2 separate regions of the Homo sapiens genome follow, and region 1 is linked to region 2. The links are contacts of gene promoters, found by promoter capture Hi-C in blood cells and fetal thymus (Javierre and others, 2016). All regions are on one chromosome and are shown on one strand. Each heading gives the region's core, a stretch centred on a gene start or on the middle of the fragment in contact. The rest is flanking DNA. Distances are from core to core; before and after follow the strand shown. Region 1 holds the start of LINC00840 (long intergenic non-protein coding RNA 840). Region 2 holds the start of LINC02881 (long intergenic non-protein coding RNA 2881).

The links. The method cuts DNA at HindIII sites, captures the fragments that hold promoters and counts their contacts. A CHiCAGO score of 5 or more calls a contact.
Region 1: a contact is called between a fragment that was not itself captured here and the fragment with the promoter of LINC02881 in region 2, in 2 of 17 cell types (endothelial precursors and erythroblasts). The highest score is 6.2, in endothelial precursors.

Annotation. Positions count from the first base shown.
Region 1 is chr10:43,856,411-43,862,648 of GRCh38, forward strand. It overlaps LINC00840 (long intergenic non-protein coding RNA 840), which reads left to right and starts at 3,001. Exons shown (of 5, transcript NR_038268.1): 1 at 3,001-3,950; 2 at 5,469-5,517. The HindIII fragment of the contact is 1,536 bases long and covers 3,030-4,565 here.
Region 2 is chr10:44,289,293-44,295,381 of GRCh38, forward strand. It overlaps LINC02881 (long intergenic non-protein coding RNA 2881), which reads left to right and starts at 3,458. Exons shown (of 3, transcript NR_164139.1): 1 at 3,458-3,641; 2 at 4,009-4,197; 3 at 4,621-5,357. It overlaps LOC124902544 (a long non-coding RNA gene), which reads right to left. Exons shown (of 3, transcript XR_007062369.1): 3 at 4,622-5,662. The HindIII fragment of the contact is 4,267 bases long and covers 859-5,125 here.

The DNA of each region.
Region 1 (6,238 bases), core at 2,548-5,047, 430 kb before region 2:
GGGTGTGCAAGACAGGGCTGGCAGGGAAGGGCTCATGTAGCAGGGACATCTGAGTGAGACTGGCCGGCGGCAAAGGGATGGCCACAGTCTTAGGTCAGGTGAGCAGGAGTGACAGGCGGACTCCATGTGAGAAGGGAAAGGGCACTAGAAGTTGGGGAGCAGCAGGGACCAGGCCCTCCACCTTTGTGACCTTGTCCTGCTGTTTAAGGAGTCCAGTGCATTCTGCATTGGCGATTACCTAGTTAGGGTGACCAGAGTGAGCAAATAAAACACAAGATGCCCAGTTAAATTTGAATTTTAGATAAACAGTAAATTTTTCAGTTGTACTACACAAAGGAACATATTAAAATTCTTTGCTGTGGAGGCAAATATAAAACTAGGTAGAATAGGCAAGGTGTGGTGGCTCATGCTTGTAATCCCAACATTTGGGAGGTCGAGGTGGGAGGATGGTTTGAGTCCAGGAGTTTGAGAGCAGCCTTGGCAACATAGACCCCATATCTACAAAAAAAATTAGCTGGTGTGGTGGCATGCCCCTGTAGTCCCAGCTACTCAAGAGGCTGAGTCAGGAGGATTGTTTGAGCCCAGGAGGTGGAGGCTGCAGTGTGCTGTGATCATGCCACTGCACTCTAGCCTATGTGGCAAAGCAAGACCATGTCTCAAAAAAAAAAAAAAAAAAGAAAGAAAAAGAATAAGAAAATAGGATGTAAGAAGGAAGAGAGAGAGAAGTCACAGTTACCATTGCTAGTGGGAGGTGACTAGGTAGAAAACTCCAGGTTGGCTAACCTCCCTTCAGCTTTGCCAAGAGACCAGTCTATGCCATGGCCAGTGATGGACCCAGCCCAAGGTGCACACAGGTGATTGGGTTGGGGAGAGTGTGGAAGACCAAGTCTGGTTTTCCTTCCCTTCAGAACCCACTACAGAAATGAACAGTGGGGGACTCCAGTTCTCACCCTGGAGCCAAGATGGCAAGGTGACAGCATGTCATAACAGCTGTTCAGAGCTAGGACTCAGGGATCAAGCTGAGCTGCACACCAACTGGGGTGCTGTGGGCGAGCAATCCCTTATTATATCTAAGGCAGATAAGAGAAGGAGTTAACCCCTAAGGATCTTGTAAGGATTAAATTAGTTAATGTAGGGAAAGGTGTTAGTTAAATTCCTGGTCCATAGTATCTATTTTATTTTAATTCCTAAGAAAATATAGTATCTCTGTGTCTGCTTCATCGACCAGACTGTATTGCAGATGGTTTAAGACCAGGCAGCAAATTTGAGGTGGAGTCATGGTTATCAGAATGGCTGCCCAGACCACAAAGCTGATTTATCTCAATCATAACAGCAGCAAATTCCTGTTATTGTAGTGAATCACAGCATGTAAGCGCACAGATGCAGGCGCCGGGGTTCAGAGGGCTGGGTTGTGTGGGGAGGGTAACGAAAAACAGACACTTGCAGGGCCCTAACAATGTGTGTAGCAACTGAACCTGCAGCCTGCTTACACAAAACAGGCCTTAATGAAACTCAGTTTCAAAATGGAATATTTTTCCTAAATGATAAGGTATTGCATATGGTTCTTTTCCCATTGTGTAGTAATTCCTTCTAAAGCAAACATTTTAAAGATTTTAACTGAGGTTGGAAAACTAAAACTTGCCTCAGTATAAAAATGTCGAAGCCATCTGCTAGAAAATCACAGCTCTGCGATATAAAACACCCAGAGCTGTGTTGCTCAAACTAATTTAATCACAAAATACCATTTCCTTGATCCGAAGGGAAACATTTCTACTTGGCCACTAGAGCTTTCTGGAGAAAGGCACTTATATTTGCAGTAAGGTATATTAGTAATTTTGAATTTCAAAGAGAAAACAGAGCAGGGATTTTGGAAAACATATGTTGAAAGGGTAATTTCAATTCTTTGCAGATGAGAAAAGTTTTTGTTAAAACAACTGACAGACACTGAGAAACATGGCCATCAGTTTGAAGGAAAGTAATTGAGTTGTGCAGTTTGCATTTTATTTTGCACACGTTTAACAATTAAAAGCTTTTCTGTACTATGAGAACAAAACCCCCCAAACACCAATGCAATGGCAGAAAGTTGGGAGTCAAATCAGGCAGCACACACACGAACACTGTGTTCACATGATGAGGACCACATTTTTGAGACATTTTCTGAAAAGAACCTGTATATGTGTGTGTGTGTATGTATATATTCTTTTTTCCTGCCAGAATCTCTTGTTGAATGATCATCAAGTTAGTTCTGGAAAATAGGTTCCAATATTGCTCCATTCATTGGCATAGGTTGACTTTATCTTATTCCAATTTAATTGGCAGCTGTTTTCTTAGATAGTTTTGCATAAAATGGTGCTCAGAGAACAAGTAGAGTTTTAAACATGACACAGTCGTGTATTTGAGGATGTTTATGTTATATATGTGCTTGTTAATTTAGTAGTTATGAGTTTAATAATAACTTTGAGCTCTTTAGACATGGATCCTCATATATATTAACAAAATCAGCTGTGTGCCTTAACCAACAGTGAGCATATTTTTTAAAATGGGCCTCTGAATTGAAAATTTAAAAAAACCCTTCAGCATCCTATTAGGATTGATTAACCCACAGGAGGGTAATCCTGGTAAGCAAACGTAACCAAGATTCTCCTTCCCCAGTGATTCCAAGTGCAGCCTGGCTCTCCTGGTCAGGTGCTTCCTTTACTCAATATTTCCTGATCTGTTCCTAGATCCTAATACCACCCTCTGCGTCAACCTGTGAATGCATCCTCACTACCAGGGCTCAGGACTTGGAGCCGGGATTTTGCTGACATGGTCTTTTCTCTGGTTGTCACCTTCCATTTCTTCTTTGGTTTGCCTTTCATTTTAATGCCAGATTTTCTAAGTGTAAGAAAGGAGGGTGGAGAGTGGGCAGAAGTCATTGTTTCCATCATGAAAGTCAACATCAGTATTTCCTGTCCTGGGGACAAACCAGTGCCTCATGTTTCTGGAAACGCTGCAGCATTTAACTTCAATTTTAATCTGGATAACGCCAAAGCTTTTCCTCAAATTCACCCCTGGAGTCAGCTCATAGATGCTCTGATTTTGTCTACCATTGCTCCTCCTTAATATCTCTCGCACAGGTGCCATTGACCTTTAGATGGGCTGTACGGTGTGGGGTTCGGTGCCATGGATCTGCTTCTCCAGGGACCAGGATCTTGAGATCTTCAGGCTGGGTTTCCATGGAGGCATGGAGCTGCTTTTCCTCCTTCATAACTGCACTCAAAACAGCCCTGTTGCTCTAGAATGGAGACTTGGGCAACTCCTTCTGGCACAGATTTGTTCACCTCAGGTGAAATTCAGATAGAAGCAAGCTGCAGGCAGTTTCACCTCTAAGTCCATGGGTTCTCAACTGGTAACGTCCTCTTATGGATGTTAGCCCATGAGGTCAATCCTGTAGCAATCTAAGGCTTGAGAAAAATTAATCTTCTGGAAAATTCCAAGAATACATCTTAGGGAAACTGGCTCTACCTTTATGACTTGGATCACACAAGGATATGCTTTTCATCTTGGACTAGAACTGAGAGCCAATGGATGTGTTATCTAAAACTATCCCAGTGTGTTCACTATACAGAGGAAGATTCTGAGATTCAAGACTCAAGACTGAAGAAGATCATTATTTTTATTATTTTAGTCTTATGCACAAAATGATATCTACTGAATAAGCAGGTTTTTAATAGGTGACTTATATATGTTAGCAAAAATAAACACTTTGTCTTTTAGATCTATTCTAGTTTTTCAGTAGCTGTAGACTTAAGTGCTAACTTTTAGCCCATAGGATAAGAAGAAACCAAGTCCTAAAAGTAGGCCAGCACCAGGGTTCAGGCCTCTGACTTCAAGCCAAGGGCTCATCATCTTGAATTGCGCACGAATTTTTACACAGCGCCAAAGGAAACTGCCTGTACTTACTGTTGTAGGTAAGACAAACCTTTGCTTATTTTTACTTCTCATGAATAAATAGTTGCAAGAAGAACTGCTGAAACAAAGGGCATTAATGAGCTTTTGCTACATATAAATAGGGAGTGTGAACCAGCAGTGTGGCGGAAGAACATTTTCCCCTCAACTACGGCAGGACTATGCGATGTTCTCCAATGAGCTCATCTTGTCAATAATGTGTAGACCTTCATGTGCTTTTTAATTATGTGCTGATTTTATTACAAGTGAACCTGTCCTCTTGTTTGTTCCCTTATACATATTCACTGTCTTTATACCTTTCCTTTCCCTCCACGAACTGTCTGCTCATATCTTTTGCCCTTTCAGAGGGAATAGTCTGTTTTTTCTTATAGGCTTATAATATTTTAAATGTAATGATAATGTTAAGATTTTTTTGACATGTACTTTATACTTTCCCAGTTCATTATGTATATTTAAATGTTTCACTAATATTTTAAAACATACATCTTTTCTTAAATTTTCCATGGTTTTATCTCTTAGCCATTATGCTTTTGCTTTCTGTGGTATATTCCTGGGGAGTGTCTCACTGAGACCCTTCGGTTTCTCTAAGTTGGTAACTTTATCTCCCGTGATGAGAAAGCTTTTCAAAGGGAGAGCGTGACCATTTCCATATAGAGTACAGTGTTGTTTTGGGGTTTAAGATTCTATTCCCGGGTGTCATCACTTCTTTTTAAATTTAACTTTGTTATGGAAAATCTTAAGCATATGTAGAAGTAGAACAAATAGTCTAATGAAACCTCACTTGTTCATAACCTGGCTTCAATAATGATCAGTACTTAGCTATTCTTACTTCATCTACCCCTTTACTCTGTGTTTTATTTTTCCTGGAGTATTTTGAAGCAAATTCTAGAAATATATATATATATATATATATATATAAATACCAATATAGTATATATATACACACACACCGTATTGGTATTGATATATATATATATACACCATAAAATATGGATATATTTTACAACATAAAATATGGTGTGTGTGTATATTATATATATAATGTGTATAATACACACACACACACACACACCCTGGAATACTACCCAGCCATAAAAAAGAGTGAAATCATGTCTTTTGCAGTAACATGTATAGAACTGGAGGCCATTATCTCAAATGAAACGACCCAGAAACTGAAAGTCAAATACTGTGTATTCTCATTTATAAGTGGGAGCTAAATAATGTGTAAACATGGACATAGAGTGTGGAATAACAGACGTTGGAGACTCAGAAAGGGGGGAGGTTGGGAGGGCAATGCGGGATGAGAAATTACCTAACAGTTACAATGTATACTAATCAAGTGATGATTACACCAAAAGCCCAGGCCTCATGACTATGAAATCTATCCAGGTAACAAAACTGCACTTGTACACCCTAAATCTATAAAAATAAAAAAAGGAAAAAGCTATAGAATGGAATAGTATACTGCAGTCATAATAAATGAATCTCAGCTAAATATAAAAATCATTGTCCTTTTGCAGGTGCTTTGCTGGATTCAGGATGCAGACAAGGTCCACGCATTGTGGTTGGGTGAGGTGTCTTTTAGGTCTCTTTTAATCTGTAATACTTCTCCCTCTCTTTTAAAAATGCATTTATTTGTTGAAAAAACTTGGTCATGGGTCATTTTTCTGTACAGTGGATTATGTTCTGGATTTAGCTAAATGCCCTCTTGTTGAAGATTTATCTTCCATGCTTCCTGCAGGTGGTTATATCCAATGCTTGATTAAACTCACATTTTTTTTTTTTGGCAAAGCCACTTTATATGAATGCTGTGCATTTCCTGTTGTACCTTCATCACATCAGGAAGCAACAATGTCTGGCCTTCTTGCTTTCAATGTTGTTAAAATTGGTGAGTTCAGGTGTCATGGACCTAGGAGTCACCAATCCTCTACATCTTTATTGACAATTTTCTCCAGAATTCAGAGTCAGTGGTGAGCATAATGGTTGGGAGTGATGGGTTGGAGTCAGACACTCTTCAGTTTGAGTAATAGTTCTGAAAGTCACTTGTTATGCCTGAGCTAGGTTGCTCAACCCCTCAGACCTTTCAGGGCTGACTCAGCTTTAGGAGTGGATACTCCATTTTGTGTGTGGGACTGTTGTTTGAGTGGGGTGAGTTGTGTGAGCTGGACTTTGGCCCAGTCTTGGCAGAGTGGTAGTTGTGATTTAGTGGCATTCGTTTCAAGCAGATGGAATTTGTTTAGATGACCCTAAAGGTCTTTCCAAATCTGACGTACTAGGATGAATTATCAGA
Region 2 (6,089 bases), core at 2,208-4,707:
GGGGGAGCTGCCCACATACGCAGTGCCCTCCTTACCCTTGGGAAGTGAGCATGCGCAGTGTGTTCAGGAAGTTGTATGCATTCCCATCTGAGACTTTCCTCCCTTTTCCAGTGGTGTGGCCCCAGAAGGTCATACTTCACCATTTTGTCTCTTAACGTAGATGTCCAGGAATTTGCTTCTCCCTGGCGCCTGCATTCAGTTAAATAACATTTTAGTGAAACAGACTTGACCATCAGGAAATGGCCTCTCTCTGGTGCTTTTTTATCACTTTTGTTTTATTTATTTTATTTATCACTTTTAGAGAGACAATGTGATAATTGCCAAACCAGCACCTAATGTTCCTAGTGGGTGGGGAGCCCTTTCCTGCCCCACTCATGCCTGTCTAACTACCTGCAGCACTAAGAGTCAATGTTATAGCTAATATGTATAATTAAAACTACTTGCTATAGGAAAAACCTCTATTATAGAGCATATAAAGGAAGTAAGATGCAAAGAAAGTTGAAAAGAGAAAGTGATTTTTTTCTTTTACATGACTGAGGACTTTGTGGTCAAAACAATAAAGAAGAGAGAAAATCACATTTTTATAGAATCCCAATGCAAAAAGAGAAAGTATAAGACAAAACTGGAGGTTTAAGTAAGTTGTAGGTTTGTGAAAGATGAATCTTGCGAAAAGAATTTTGTGTGTGAGCAAGTTGGCTAAAATTATACGAGAATTATTTCAAGTTTTTCTAAAGATTGAGCATTAATATGAAAAGCACACTAATGCAAGGCCAGAGTCCTGGCTCCTATGTTTGAACAATAGGGTTTTCCCTATAATTTTAACAGAAAATTATAAAAGATTATAAGAGGTTTATGGAAAGCTTATCTTGCATGGTCAAAACTGATTCAGACTGGATGGATTTATTTATAAGTCTTTATTAAACTTAGCTTTAGCATTAATAATATACTGACACAAATGTAGAATATGCTTTCCTCTTTTGAACAAGATTTTAATGTAGTATTAATAAGGATAGTAAAAGGCTTTTGTTCAACTTTTGAGTAAACTGCAAAAAAAGATCTTTATTAGGTCTTTTGATTATTTAGATAACTGAGTCTTCTCTCTCAAAGAGTAAAGGTTGTTTGAAATTTTTGAATTATTGCTTTGGTTAAATGAATGACTATTATTTACAGTGAACTGTGATCCTAATTTGATCAAGTGTTTTAAACCTTTAATATTTGATATACTACCCAAAGTCAAATTTCAGTTTCTAAAATTAAATCTTTTCCAAAAGTAACCTCTAGAAATCTAAGAAAGATATATTTAGCTTATTTGGTATGTTAAAATCATATGGGAAGCATTGTCAAATCTCAAATAAATAATGGAGTTTAATTTTTTAGTCATATTTTTCTGAATATGTTATTATTTTGATATATCATGATATATGTTGTCAAGCATAATTATGATTTATCCTTGGTAAAAACGGGGAAACGGGAGAGAAAAATTGCATTTCAGAAGACAAGTACAGTATGCCTGTTATCAGATTCTAGTCTTGCCCATTGTTTTTGAGTTTTTATTATTTTCCTACAATTTGGACTAAATCCTGAATTCTTTCTTGGCTGCAAGTCTTCAAACTAATGCTTTTGAACTTTTCTCTCATTTTTCTCACTTGGAATCACTAGAATTTAAAACTGCTTTTCTTGAAGCCCTGCAAACTAAAGTTAGACAACTTGATATAAACTTCAGGAGGAGTCAGCACAGCAACTCACATGTACACAGCCTTTGTGCCTGCTGATGTATGGGCTACTCAGGAAGTTCACATGAACACGTAATTCAAACTATAATCCAGGAAAATCTGTAAGATTACCACTACAATCTGAAGATACTTCTGAGACTCTAGAAAAACTAGTTTATTATGGACTATTCCAGACATTAAGAAAAACCTTTGTTTTTCTTTGTTTCCATAGAAATGCCTCTTATTAAAGACCAGCTTGCCTGCATCAGCTGTAGAAGCCCAGCCCCTCTGTAGTGCCACCTCCTAGAATGGACACAGCTGTTTGACCAAATGCTTCTACTCTTAGGACTAAGAGACTGATTCAAGAAGATATGGGACAACATATTTATTTATTTTTCTTTTCTGCTTATCCCAATTTGTTTTTTCCCCTTCTTTGCCTTCTTTTCCTCTAACCCAAATCTCTCCATAATCACTGATTCAGCTGTTGATAATGTGAAATTCTAGGGAAGTTCCAAACAGGAGGATTGAAGGAGCGCAGGGAACTTGGCCCCAAAATATGGCTCCCTGGTATGAGTATTTTCAATTAAAGTCCCTCAAGATCAACAGAAGCTGGAAGAGTCCTCTCCCTTATCTACATGAAGACCCTGCAGACCCACCAAAGAGAACAATTACTTTTCCTTCTCCTCCCTCTTATCTCATTATCTATTGCAGAAAAGAAAACCAACACGTGACCACACCTGAACAGACGCTTTCAAAAAAATAATCCATTTCTCCAGCTTATTAAATTTTCAAAGAGAACCATTTACGAATAACTCTCTGTTTCTTGACCCATTCATTCTCCTTAATAATAATTTATTGCCCCTCAACAGAATCACCTACATTCCGCCTTCCACCCTCCTCTCTGAAAAAACGCTGTATAAGTATCTGGACCTCATGGGATATTGGGTAATCACCTTATTTTTCCCGTGTACACGTTAATAAATTTGTATGCATTTCTCTTATTAATCTGCATTGTACACTTAAAAAGTATTAAAAGAGTGAAATTTATGTTATGAATATTTTATCACAATAAAACAATATTTTAAAAAACTGACAAAAATTCTTTTTAATTTCTTTCAAGTGAGGAATTACCAACTACTTAACAGGGTGCTTAGAATGGGGGATTTTACCAGATAAGTGGCATGCTTTTTACAATTAACAATTGCTGTTATTTACTGAGTATCCACTTTCTCTGCCAGCTCCTGCGTTAAGCACTTTACATATACTAATTCAAATCCTTAAAAAAGAAAATAAAGAAGAGAAAAGGAAAGAAAAATAAGAACATGTAAGGCTATAAGGTGCCTCATCTTTGCCAAATTCTACAGACTGGCCAGGAGACTGCAGGCCACTGCAGCTTCCTAAGGCCACTCAGGACAAGGCCAGTCCGCAATTTGTTTCACTGTGAGACGGCTGCGCGGTCAGAGCCCAGACACGGTCATCAGACTCCCGGACTTGGATTCAGCTCCACATGGTGTCACCCTGGGTAAAGGATGTACATCTCTGCGTGCCTGGGTTTGTATGGATGGCAGCATGGATGCTCAGGCAACTGACCCGTCAGGACTGCAGCAAATGAACAGAAGCTGGGGGAGAGCGCGGGCTGGTGCTGTACGGAGCTCTGGCGCAGAAGGCGCTCACCAGGGGTGCCCAGAGCCGGGGTCTGTGCGCCGCGGGTTGGATCCGGGTCACAGGCTCTGGGTGGACAGAGTGAGAAGACAAAATGAGGATGTACTCCTCAGATGCTCACGAAAGGCCTCCTTCCCCTTCTTTGGGAACGACCCCCCCCCACCCCCTCCCCCCAACAGGCAGTCCCAGGCCGCGCCAGGACTCGGCCGCAGGCAACTCGGAGGAGCGGGAGCCCAGGGGCCTCAGGAGGGCCTCGGGAGTGGGGAGGTGAAGGGGGCGTCGGGAGGGCCGCGGGTGGGAGGCGGGATAGGGAGGCGGGGAGACTCGGAGCGGGGTTGGGGAGGCGAAGAATGGAGGTGGGGAGGTGGGGAGGGGGGCTTCGGGAGGGCCGCGGGTGGGAGGGGGATGGGGAAGCGAGAAGGGGGGGCGGGGAGGGGGGCCTCGGGAGGACCGCGGGTGGGAGGTGGGTGGGGAGGGGGGCCTGGGGAAGGATGGAGCCCGCTGAAGGCAGGCGATGACGCAGGCCCAGTGTACTTCTCCTGGGGGCTCCTTTCTAGGCCCACGGAAGCTCCGTGTTGGTTTCTTTGTACCCATATCACACTCACTGTATTTCTTCTTTCCTTTCCTCTCCCAGCAGCTGTAAGCGCCCTACAGTTTGCATGGGAAGGCAACAGGGACTTCCCTTTTGCACTGTCTGCGGGTACCGCTGTTCCAGCCCTGAGAGGACGAGGGGACGCTGCGCTGTGGGGAAAGTCCGGGTGGCAGGAGGTGGCGGGGCTCCTGGAGGAGGTGCTGGGATGCGCTGCTGTGGCTGCAGAGAAAGGTCCCGAGGACGCAACCCGTCCCTTCCCCCGAACTGCGAAGGAGCCCCGCGGGGAGGACGGGCAGGGTCTCCCGGAGGGAGGAACAGGGGAGCCTGGAGTCTCAGGGTTGCGGGGAGCAGAGGCGTTCTGGGTGGTGAACGTCCCCAGCCTGCCCTCCCTGCTCACTGCGAGGTCGCGCACCGGCTCTGCTCCAGGCCTTCCCTCAGCCCTGGCCTCCAGGCAGTTTCCATTTTTGCCAGGTGGATTCTGTACGGCTTCATTTATTCAGAATCTGGATCAACAAATGAACACTCAGAGAGGAAAAGGGTGTTTGGAGGGGTGGAGAGGTTTCCAAGCAGGTGCCCACCTGAGGGCCCCCTGAAAGGGGACTTAAAGCCGAGTTTCCAGCTGGGCCACCCTTTTTTTTTCTTTCTTTCTTTCAGAAATATAAACAAAGAGCTTGAATTATTTTGAAATAACTGTTGGTAGCTGGACTGTGTTCTCTTGACCGCAACATTGCTCTGGGACTGAATCGCGTGGGTCTCTGCTCTTCCTAAGTGTTACATAAGAATAGCGAACCCATGAGGTCAGCTTCTAAACCAGTTTCTTCCCATAACCTCCTGGACCAAGTCCCAAGCAAGGCCCAGAGGAGCTCAAGGACCCACTCTCCCCGGGACACTCCTCGCTCTCTAGTTGGAAGGAGGAAATGAATGTCCCCCAGTAATTGAAGGCTGCTCATGTTTGTGTAGAAAAGCCAAGCACAGGCCCATATTCTAGAGGGTTGCTTGCGGCAGGCGGAAGGCCATCGAAGGCAAAACGAAACAAATGAAAAGGCATCTTTTGAAGCTAATGGAACAGATCAGGTGGTCAAAAATGGATAAACAATGGCATTTGGAGCAAAACTTTCAGCTTCTTCGTTTTAGTTCGACAGCCCCAGGAGGGCATGGAAGCTTCTCGCCCTCCTCATATGTCTTGCCCCAGGCATCTCTGTGTCTCTCTCCTCTGTAACATCCTTTATAGTAAATGTAAGTAGGCCTTTCCCTGAGCTCTGTGAGCTGCTCTAGCGAATTATTCAAGTGTTAGGAGGCGTCCTGGGAACATTGATTCGTGGGAACGCCAGTGGGTCAGAAGCACAGGTAAGACCACCTTGCCATTGGCATTGGAAGTGGAGGGCAGGCTTGGGACATGAGGCTTGGGCTTGTGGGGTGTGAGGCCACCTCCAGGTAGAAGGTGTCGATGTTGGAATTGTCCGATGTAGAACTGCCTTCTTGCTTGTGGTGGGGAGAAAACCCACACATTTGGTCACAGAAGTCTTCTGTGTTGATTGTTGTTGAGTGAGAGAAAAAAAGTACTTTGGTTTGTTCTGATATTTTCAGAAAGGCTGTAATCAGTTCCTGGGCAATGCGTCATAATACCTCCGCCTCAGTACACTCCCCATCCTGAGGGGCGGCGCTTGCCATTTCTGAAAGGATGCCTCTGTGGGGCCTGGGAGCAAGGCAAGGCTGTGTCATTTCAGTCCTCTCAGCCCAGTCCCCACCAGGACCTGCCAGCCTGGAGTGAAAATGCATCTTATTGTCCTTCTGTCGCCTTCCAGAGACAGACTCCTAACCAGAACGCACATGGCACACATGCATACACACACATTACACACACATGCCCCACATACATACACACAGGCCCCACATGCATACACACGCACCACACATTCATATGCACACAGCACACATGTAGTCACACATGCCACACATGCATACACACACACCACCCATCCCACCCACATCACATATGATATACACAAGACACACCACACCGCACCGCACCATAGTCACACATGCTAAACATACCACATCATCCACAAATGCACCTACACATGCCACACATCATGCCACACCATGTATGCTACTGCATGTTA